2 separate regions of the Homo sapiens genome follow, and region 1 is linked to region 2. Evidence: promoter capture Hi-C in 16 types of primary human blood cells and fetal thymus (Javierre and others, 2016). All regions are on one chromosome and are shown on one strand. The core of a region is centred on a gene start or on the middle of the fragment in contact, and the rest is flanking DNA. Distances in the headings are between cores, read along the strand shown.

The links. The method cuts DNA at HindIII sites, captures the fragments that hold promoters and counts their contacts. A CHiCAGO score of 5 or more calls a contact.
Region 1: a contact is called between a fragment that was not itself captured here and the fragment with the promoter of MEFV in region 2, in 1 of 17 cell types (megakaryocytes). The highest score is 6.1, in megakaryocytes.

What each region holds. Positions count from the first base shown.
Region 1 is chr16:3,516,087-3,521,598 of GRCh38, reverse strand. CLUAP1 (clusterin associated protein 1) reads right to left here. Exons shown (of 12, transcript NM_015041.3): 7 at 1,563-1,696. Among named protein-coding and RNA genes, the nearest start is that of CLUAP1, 18 kb to the right of the region's middle. The HindIII fragment of the contact is 1,209 bases long and covers 1,021-2,229 here.
Region 2 is chr16:3,254,159-3,259,096 of GRCh38, reverse strand. It overlaps MEFV (MEFV innate immunity regulator, pyrin), which reads left to right and starts at 2,464. Exons shown (of 10, transcript NM_000243.3): 1 at 2,464-2,786; 2 at 4,307-4,938. The coding sequence starts at 2,510. The HindIII fragment of the contact is 7,994 bases long and covers 1-4,938 here.

The sequences.
Region 1 (5,512 bases), core at 376-2,875, 260 kb before region 2:
GCTGGGCGTGGTGGCGGCCGCCTGTAATCCCAGCTACTTGAGAGGCTGAGGCAGGAGAATCGCTTGAATCCGGGAGGCAGAGTTTGCAGTGAGCCGGGATCGCGCCATTGCACTCCAGCCTCGGCAACAAGAGCGAAACTCCAACTCAAAAAAAAAAAACAAAAACAAAAAAAACCATAAAAATCTATACTGGTTTGCTGAACTTTTTCTTTTTTCTTATTATTGACCTTAAAGGGAAAATTCTACTCTTTTAAAAATATAAGCAGATAAACTCAGAAATAATTATAATCTTTTGAACTAGAGCAAAACAAAGAGACTTTTCTGTTAAAATGATTTGGAGCTTAACAAAAATGAATTGATGCTTTAAAAGTGGAATGTGTCAAGGAGATCAATCTATATGGCGGCAATGACTTCTGTTTTTTTTTTTTTCCCTCTCTGAGGCTCCAGAGGTAAAGAGCCAGTTTCAGGAGGGGAAGGGCCTTGGCCTTGCGCTGGGCAGGGAGGAGCCAGGGCGCTCCCTGTGGTTGCTGTCGCTGCCTCCAGGTGCTGCCTCCCCACAGACCTCGGGACAGTGGGCAGGGTGTAGCCAGCCACCAACATCCAAAAAGGCAAAACATCCGAGCAGAGTAGGCAGCTGGGAAGAGGAGGGAGCCAAGAAGAAAGAAAAATAAAGGGTGAATGAAAAGGGAGAAAGAGCAGAAGCATGGGGGAGGGAAAGAGGCACAGAACGAGGAAGAGAAGAGAGAGAGAGCCGGCACCACTATTCTCCATCGGTATTCCTGGGAAATATATTTCCAATGAGGTAACGTAGGAAGAAAGATGAATTACTGACTGGTGAGGAATGATCAAGGTTTAAATAAAGTCTAAAATCTATGCCAACAAACAGGCAGGAGTATGTTTCTGTTTCTACCTAATTTATGGCAAGATCTTAGGAGACCACGTCTGGATTTCCCCGTCTGGATTCACTTACTCTGCCTTGAGTTCCAAGAAGCTATAAAAGCTTAAAGGGCAGTTCAAGCTTTAAGCAGTTTTCCAGACATACCGCAAGCAGTAAAGAGAATGAGTTTAGCCATCTGCTTGTTATGACAGGCAACACATGTACATTTGAGGTGAAGATACCCTTATGTAAGGCTTTTTTTCATTGCTTGAGAAGAGTTAAGATCACATTCTATTCTCTTAAGTCTTTGTTCTAACTTTTTTTTTCTTTTAGAGTCAGGGCCTTGTTCTGTTACTCGGCCTTGTTCTGTGGCTCAGGCTGGAGTGCAGTGATGCAACCATAGCTCACTGCAGCCTCAACCTCCTGGGCTCAAGCAATCCTCCCGCCTCAGCCTCCCAAGTAGCTGGGACTACAGGTGTGTATCACCATACTGAGGTAATTTTTAAAAATTTTTAGAGATGGGGTTTCATTATGCTGCCCAGGCTGGTCTCAAACTCCTGGGCTCAAGAGAACCCCCCGCCCCAGCTTCATGAGTAGCTGAGATTTCAGACATGAGCCACCACGCCCAGTTTGTTTGAACTTTCCAGGACATCTTTCTACTCATTCTCCAAGTGTTCATATCTACCTGACACTCTGCAGAGTCTCTAGTCGCTTCCGATTTCTTTCCAGTTCTAATTTTCTCTTTTCGATTTTGGCTTCTAAATTAGCTTCATCAGAGGCCACATTATTGAGCAGGTCTTTAGTCTTCTGAACCTGTGTCTATATTTAATGGGAAATAATGAGACAAGGTGGCAATAAAAACAGCCATCCTAATTCTTAGAAGAATTTTGCAACTCTTCAGGCATAGCAACATTATGCTCAACAAACACAAAAGCAAACAAATAGACACTTCCCCAAGCAATGACTCACTTAACCCACTAGTTCCAGGGAGAATGTCACACAGGTCCAGAAAAAGGTATCTCTTTTTTTTTCCCCATGAAAAGCAGGCATTTCTACCCAGGGAAAGAAGTGAAGATGCAAAGAAGAGTGTCCTGGTCAAGGTGGAGAGGCCTGCAGTCTTTTCTCTGGCTCACTCGGTTAGAACAAGGTGCACATCACTCTGGACGGTCAGTCTGCCTTTTTATCATTCGGGCCATGCCCCTAGTTACAAACACCCGACTTACAGAATACCCACACACACCAAGTACTGCTCTACTAGGAGGGGAGAGAAAGAAACAGCTGGTCCCAGCCCTAACCCACTGCCTGCTGGGATTGAGAGAAGGTCCTCTTCCCTCTCCCTGGCAACAGAAGCTTGACTACAGACTAAAAACGAGGAGAAACCACTCTGAAGACAGTACGAAAGCAGTTCCCACAGTGGCAATGGCCACACTGGTGTGCACCAGCTCTGGAAGGGGTCCAGGGCAACAGTTGGACAGAGGCCCTTGGGCAACAGAGGCTGAGTAAAGAAGGGAAGGGGGACACGGGCCCACTGACGGTGACACAAGTCTCCCTATCCTAAGAGAAGGTTCATTTGAAGCAGGTAGAGTCACTGGTAGTGCGCCGTCTTCACATGCGTCTTGTCCGGTGGCTGGCTGGATCACATGCCTGGGGTTCAGGCTCCAATCTCTTTATGAGGAATCTGGACTGCCACCCAGCTGAGCGTGGAACTGCCCCCCAGGGTTCTGGCTTTCCAGCCCTGCATTAAGTTCCTGGTGGCCAAGGTGGGGCTTCCCCTCCAGCTCTTTGCCTATGTGTAGCATCCCACGAAGGGGTTACTCTGTTTTCCTGCAAGTCTCTGAAAAGCTATGGGCTCCACAGAGAAATGGCCTACGAAGCCCAGACACTCTCCACAACTCTCAGGCATGGTGTGTTTTGGAACCAGCCACTGTTACTGACAATGCGTTTATGGTCTAATTTTTTTGGTCTAAGTACACTAGCCACTTCTAAGATACTTTCATGAAAATAATCAGACCCTTATCATCGATTTGCTGCAAGTGCCTTAGAGCCCCCAGGAGAAATGCGAGTTCACCCTCACAGGAAGAAAGGTGGGTCTCCTTTCTAAACAACTTCAGTTAATGGCAACTGTTTCCTCGAACCAAAGTCAGATTAAAACCTAGTAAATTTATCCCACCTTAAACATATCTGTTCCTCAAACAAGAAAGATCCACAATGCAAAACAGCTGTGTAAACACAAGCAATTTTCCCTGGTTTCTGAAATAAATGGCCTGTACTCCCCAAACCCTTTTAAGTACCCATGTTGTTTTGGTTGTTTTTAGAATGATCAAACATCACAGATATTTTCTAACAATGAAAGGAGTCTTAAGAGATGTCTACCAAGAAATGAACCCTGTCCTCTCTTGGGTGTTCTACTTTTAACATATTAGTGCTAAGGGCACATTCATGCCGTGTTCACCTGATTCAGTTAGAACACTGGCAAGGATAAGAGGTATAATAATTTTTTTTTAATTTTTAAATTTAGAAACAATCAAAAATTTACGGAAAACCTGTTGTACAACACAAAGCGTTTTTCCCAACCTAGGTGACAGTAAGTTGCTGACCAGACGTTCCAATACCCTGAATACTTTAGCGTGTATTTCCTACAAATAAGGACTTTCTCCTACATCCCCACAATACAATCATCAAAACAGGAAGCCAGCACTAACACACTACCACCGTCTAACTCCAGCCCCACTCCACTGTCCCCACTTGTCCCAGTGAAGTCCCCAACAGCAGATAGGAGCTGCCTATGTGTCCAGTTATCACATCTCCACAGCCTCCCTCAGTCTGAAATGCCCCCTCAGCTTTCCTTGACTTTCAGAACCTTTTCACTCTGGGAGCATACAGGCTGGTTAATCTGTAGAATGCCCCTCAATCCGGCTTTGTCTCATTAGAGTCAGATATGCATCGTTGGCAGGAATACTCAGAAGTGACTGCATCCTACCAGGCGTGCATGATTTTGATTTGTTCTGTAACGATGATGTTCACTTTGATCTCTTGATTAAGGGGGTGACTGGCAGGCTTCTCCCTGAGAAGTGACTCTTTTCCCCTCTGTAATTAATAAGTACTCTGCGGGCCAGGCACAATGCCTCATGCCTGTAATCCCAGCACTTTGAGAGGTCAAGGCGGGCGGATCACCTGAAGTCAGGAGTTTGAGACAAGCCTGGCCAAACATGGCAAAACTCCATCTCTACTAAAAAAAAAAACAAAAATTAGCTGGGCGTGGTGGCGCATGCCTGTACTTCCAGCTATTTGGGAGGTTGAGGCACGAGAATTGCTCGAACCCAGGAGGCAGAGATTGCAGTGAGCTGAGATGGCGCTACTGCACTTCAGCCTGGGTGACATAGCAAGACTTCGTCTAAAAAAATAAACAAATAAATAAATAAAATAAAACAAAAATACAATAATTAGCTGGGTGTAGTGGTGTGCGCCAGTAATCCCAGCTACTCAGGAGAATCACTTGAACCTGGGAGGCAGAGGTTGCAATGAGCCGAGGTTGTGCCACTGTACTCCAGCCTGGGCAACAGAGCAAGACTCCGTCTCAAAAAAAAAAAAAAGAAAAAAAAAGTACTTTGTGGAAAGTTACTTCGAATCTGTGTGAATGACCTGCTCCTCCTCAGCCTCCAATATTCATTTATTTTTTTATGCCAGTGAAAACTCATGGTTTCCTATTTCATTCTATTATACCATAAAATTAATTATTCTAACTTATTTATTTTGATGCTTAAGTTGTCCTTACTTTGGCCAGGAGAAGCCCACTTAAGTTGGCTTCTGCATGCTTCCAATAGTTCCCTTTCCTCCTTTGAACTCTTCCTTACTTTCTCGTACTTCTCCTGCCCAACTCTGGAATTAGCCATTTTCCCCTAAGAGTCCTGGTTCCTTTTAGTGGAGAATGGCATTAAGCCAGGTGCTACGTGTGCTCAGAGCTAAGAAATGTATGAGTGTGGGTGTCTCTACGTGTATGTATATAAATAAAACATTTATATACATATATACGTAATTCCTTAAATGTGCATACATGTATATCAAAATTTATTCCTATACCTATCTATATATTGAAAACTATGCGTTTAACCAACACCTCCAATTTCAAGTTCACCCTAATTTTCTCTCTTTCCATTTTTGTGACATTTTTGTGACTTTTTTCTCCAACAGTGAGGAACGTGGCTCCATTATCCTTGCCATATTTTTACTTATCTGACCCATCTGCCTATCTGTCACCAATCTCCCACCAGGGCTGTGGTGCCCTTCTCCCGCTGTGAGGCTCTGACTCCCTAGGCTGGGCTGCCCAGCAGGTATTACTGTTTAATGACAAAAGAATTACATATTTTTAAAAACCTATGATTTTTAGAATTTTGTACAACTCATAGCAAATTCTTGTTTTATGCCTACTCTGAATGTACACAGGGGCCCTCATCCGTGTCTACTGAGTAAAATAAATCACCAGTGATGACTGATTATCAATTGTGCATCAGAGACGAGGCTTGATATGCCCTGTCGTGATTCATGTTTATAAGGACCCCACACAGTTGGGAATGCAGTTCTTGCCATTTTACAGATGAGGAAAATGAGGCACAGAGAGGGTAAGTAACTTGCCTA
Region 2 (4,938 bases), core at 1,215-3,714:
CTGGCCCCAGTGATACCCCATTCAACACCCTTCTTCTGGCCCAGCCTAAAAATTCCAAAAATCTGCTGTCTGCACCATCAATGTGCATTTCATCCACTTTTTTTTTTTTTTTTTTTTTTTTTTTTTGAGACAGGGTGTCTTGCTGTGTCACCCAGGCTGGAGAGCAGTGGTGCAATCACAGCTCATTGCAGCCTGAACCTAGGCTCAAGCAATCTTCCCACCTCAGCCTCCTGAGTAGCAGCAGGGACCACCAGTGTGTGCCACCACACCCAGCTAATATTTTTTCTATTTTTTGTAGAGGCAGGGTCTCCTTATGTTGCCCAGGCTAATCTCAAACTCTTGGGCTTAAGTAATCCTCCTGTCTCAGCCTCCCAAGGGCTGGGATTGCAGGTGTGAGCCACTACACCCAGCCCAATTCACCCTTTTTTTAGGGAAGATGTTGGGTTTGGGCTCAGAAAGATCTAGCAAACTGCATGTTTGTTGTCAGCTATGAAAACAATGCAAAAACACCAAATACTCTGTGAAATAGGAAACAGGTGGACCAGCTGGACAGTAAGTTAAATTCAACCAACCAGAACTCATCAAAGCCTTGAATCCCAGGCTGGGCACACACAGAGGAGCTCACACCCAGAGCTGGGTGTTCAGCTAGGCGTCGCAATGTTGTGACTGACCTGTGGAAGTGACCCATCCTGGACCTCAGTGGTCAGCTGGAAATGTGACATCCATGGGTAGTCATTAACAGTAAAATCACAAATTATTGTCATGCAGGAGACGATGTTGTGAAGTGGTTTGACGTTTGGATCTTGGCTCTAGGCAAGTCACTAAGCTACAGATTCTTGGCTGCACAGGGGGATGATAAACGCAGCCCTGCAGGGTGCTGCAGAGATTCTAGGAGGAAGTGTTTATAAAGCTAGTGGTGGCTGGTGCCGAGGAAGTGCTGGTGAAGGGTAAATTGCATTATTAACAAAACTTCTGGCCGGGCGCAGTGGCTCACACCTGTAATCCCAGCACTTTGGGAGGCCAAAGCGAGTGGATCGCTTGAGATCAGGAGTTCAAGACCAGCCTGCGCAACATAGTGAGACCCTGTCTCTATAAAAAATACAAAAATTGGCCAGATGTGGTGGAATGCACCTGTAGTCTCAGCTACTTGGGAGGCTGAGGTTGGAGGGTTGCTCAAGCCCAGGAGGCAGAAGTTGCAGTGAGCCAAGATCCCACTACTGCACTCCAGCCTGAGTGACTGAGCAAGACCCTATCTAAAAATAAAAAAATTAGGGTATGCAACGGTCAGAAGTAGGTAAGTGAGGAGTCAGTTCACCCTACATGTAATTTTTCATTTATTTATTTTTTTTGAGACAAAGTCCCGCTCTGTCGCCCAAGCTGGAGTACAATGGCGCAACCTCGGCTCACTGCAACATCTGCCTCCCATGTTCAAGTGATTCTCCTGCCTCAGCCTCCTGAGTAGCTGGGAGTACAGGTGCGTGCCACCATGCCTGGCTAATTTTTGTATTTTTAGTAGAGATGGGGTTTTACTGTGTTGGCCAGGCTGGTCTTGTACTCCCAACCTGAGGTGATCCACCCACCTCGGCCTCCCAAAGTGCTGGGATTACAGGCGTTAGCCACTGTGCCCTGCCCCCAACATGTAACTTCTGTTAGCTTCAAAGCCACCTCTGGGGCCCTGCACCACATATGAGCTGAAGGACACCCGTGCCTTTTCACCCGTGTAGCTCCAGCATCTTGGCACACTGTCTAGAATGTTCAATGAATGTGCACGGAAGAGCATTCTGGCTCCAGGGAGCGAGGACTGAGTCAGCTCTGGGAACAGATGAGTCAGGCTGGTGGTCCAGGCATTGCTTTTCAAGTCCTTCATGTGGCTGGAAGAACCAGTCAACTGGAACCGGATCAACAGGGGTGATGGCATGGCAAGAGTTATCTCCTGGCAGTGCCCTTCTGGCCTCACTTGCCTTCTTGGGCCAGGAAAGGCAAAGCTCACAGGACTGTATTCAGTGCCCACCCCTTCCCCCGTCCTGTGCCATTGGCTCTGGAAGGTCCCTGAAACCCCGAGTCTGGAGGAGAACAGTTGACCAGCAGGGCGGGCCCTCAGCATAGTCCTCTCTGTTCCCACTCACCCGCTCTGCCAGCCCCAGATCCTGGCAGGAAGGAAGATTGGAGGGGGTGTCTGGAATCCAATCCCAGACCTTCCCTTGCAGACTTGCCCATCTGTCTGTGGTCTAGTGTGGAGGCGAGGTCCAGGGTTTGGGAGGGGTGTGGGGGCACATGTCTGCCAAGGCATGGAGCCCTCCCAGCTGGAAAATCCTCTGAACCTGTAAGAAGAGAACACAGCCGGCATGGACACACCCTTACCCTTAGTCTCAGTTCCCACCAAGACACAGAGCATTTCCTGTGCCTTTTCCGCTATTTCACAACCTGCCTTTTCTTGCTCACCAAGGACAGAGGCTTCTTTTCCTACCAGAAGCCAGACAGCTGGCTCGAGCCTCTCCTGCTCAGCACCATGGCTAAGACCCCTAGTGACCATCTGCTGTCCACCCTGGAGGAGCTGGTGCCCTATGACTTCGAGAAGTTCAAGTTCAAGCTGCAGAACACCAGTGTGCAGAAGGAGCACTCCAGGATCCCCCGGAGCCAGATCCAGAGAGCCAGGCCGGTGAAGATGGCCACTCTGCTGGTCACCTACTATGGGGAAGAGTACGCCGTGCAGCTCACCCTGCAGGTCCTGCGGGCCATCAACCAGCGCCTGCTGGCCGAGGAGCTCCACAGGGCAGCCATTCAGGGTAAGCGGGCCCAGGCCTCCTCCTCATCCAGTGCTGAGTGCTGGCTGCTTTGTGGGAAAGGGGACCAGGAGCTCAGAGCAGCTCACTCTGACCTGGGGATTGGGAGTCTCAGGTCTACCAAAATCCAGATGACTTTAGTTCAGGAACGTCCCTTTCTTCACTCTGGCCTTTGGAACTGGGTTAGTAAACTTCCTTCAGGCTCCTAATGGGTTTTTTAAGAAGCAGGTCAGGGTCACGAAAGGCAGGAGCTGGAACACCTGTTCTTTGAGACTTCTTCACTACATTTATGATTAATACTCATGTCAGACAAACATCTCTAGGTTAGCAAAAAGGGATTGCTATGCAATCATATGAACGGGGTTGGTATAGAATCTTCTCAGTGCTGTTCACCATGTTGGCCAGGCTGGTCTCGAACTCCTGACCTCAAGTGATCCTCCCGCCTCAGCCTCCCAAAGTGCTGGGATTTCAGACATAGGCCACCGTGCCCGGCTTATTTTTATTTTTAAAGCGTATAATCTGGGTTTTGCTGACCTGTGTAAGATCTTATTTGAAACAGTTGTCCTGCTTAAAACGTTTGAAAAGTACTATTTGAGAAATATAGGCTAGGCATGGTGGCTCACACTTATAAATAATCTCAGCACTTTGGGAGGCTAAGGTGGGTGGATTGCTAGAGCTCAGGAGTTTGAGACCAGCTTGGGCAACATGGTGAAACCCTGTCTCTACCAAAAATACAAAAAAATGAGCCAGGCGTGGTAGCACACACCTGTATTTTCAGCTATTGAAAAAACAGAAAACAGGCTGAGGTGAGAGGATTGCTTGAGCCTGGGAGGCAGAGGTTGCAGTGAGCTGAGATCACATCAGGGCAACAGAGCAAGATCCTGTCTCAAAAAATAAAATAAGAGAGAGAGAAATACATAGCAACATCAAGCATGTTCTTACTGAATGGTAATTGACTGCCATTGTCTAGTCTAGGAAGTCCTGAACTTTTGTTTTTGAGATGGAGTCTTGCTCTGTCACTCAGGCTGGAGTGCAGTGGCCCGATCTCAGCTCACTGCAACCTCCACATCCCGGGCTCAAGCGATTCTCATGCCTCAGCCTCCCGAGTAGCTGGGACTACAGGTGCGCACCACCGCGTCTGGCTGAGTTTCTTATTTTTAGTAGGAACGGGGTTTTGCCATGTTGGCCAGGCTGGTCTCGAACTCCTGACCTCAAATGATCCTCCCACCTTGGCCTCTGGAGAAGCTGGGATTACAGGCATGCGCCACCACGCTCAGCTTATTTTTGTATTTTTAGTAGAGACGGGGTTTCACCCTGTTGGTCTTGAACTCCTGATCTCAGGTGATCCTCCCGCCTCGGCCTCCCAGAGTGCCGGGAATACAGGCATGAGCCACCGCGCCCGGCCCGTTGTTTTCCTCAATTTCTAAACTTTAATATCCAAGGGGATTCTCTCTCCTCTGCCCTGAATCTTGGGCCCTAAACGTGGGACAGCTTCATCATTTTGCATCTGGTTGTCCTTCCAGAATATTCCACACAAGAAAACGGCACAGATGATTCCGCAGCGTCCAGCTCCCTGGGGGAGAACAAGCCCAGGAGCCTGAAGACTCCAGACCACCCCGAGGGGAACGAGGGGAACGGCCCTCGGCCGTACGGGGGCGGAGCTGCCAGCCTGCGGTGCAGCCAGCCCGAGGCCGGGAGGGGGCTGTCGAGGAAGCCCCTGAGCAAACGCAGAGAGAAGGCCTCGGAGGGCCTGGACGCGCAGGGCAAGCCTCGGACCCGGAGCCCGGCCCTGCCGGGCGGGAGAAGCCCCGGCCCCTGCAGGGCGCTAGAGGGGGGCCAGGCCGAGGTCCGGCTGCGCAGAAACGCCAGCTCCGCGGGGAGGCTGCAGGGGCTGGCGGGGGGCGCCCCGGGGCAGAAGGAGTGCAGGCCCTTCGAAGTGTACCTGCCCTCGGGAAAGATGCGACCTAGAAGCCTTGAGGTCACCATTTCTACAGGGGAGAAGGCGCCCGCAAATCCAGAAATTCTCCTGACTCTAGAGGAAAAGACAGCTGCGAATCTGGACTCGGCAACAGAACCCCGGGCAAGGCCCACTCCGGATGGAGGGGCATCTGCGGACCTGAAGGAAGGCCCTGGAAATCCAGAACATTCGGTCACC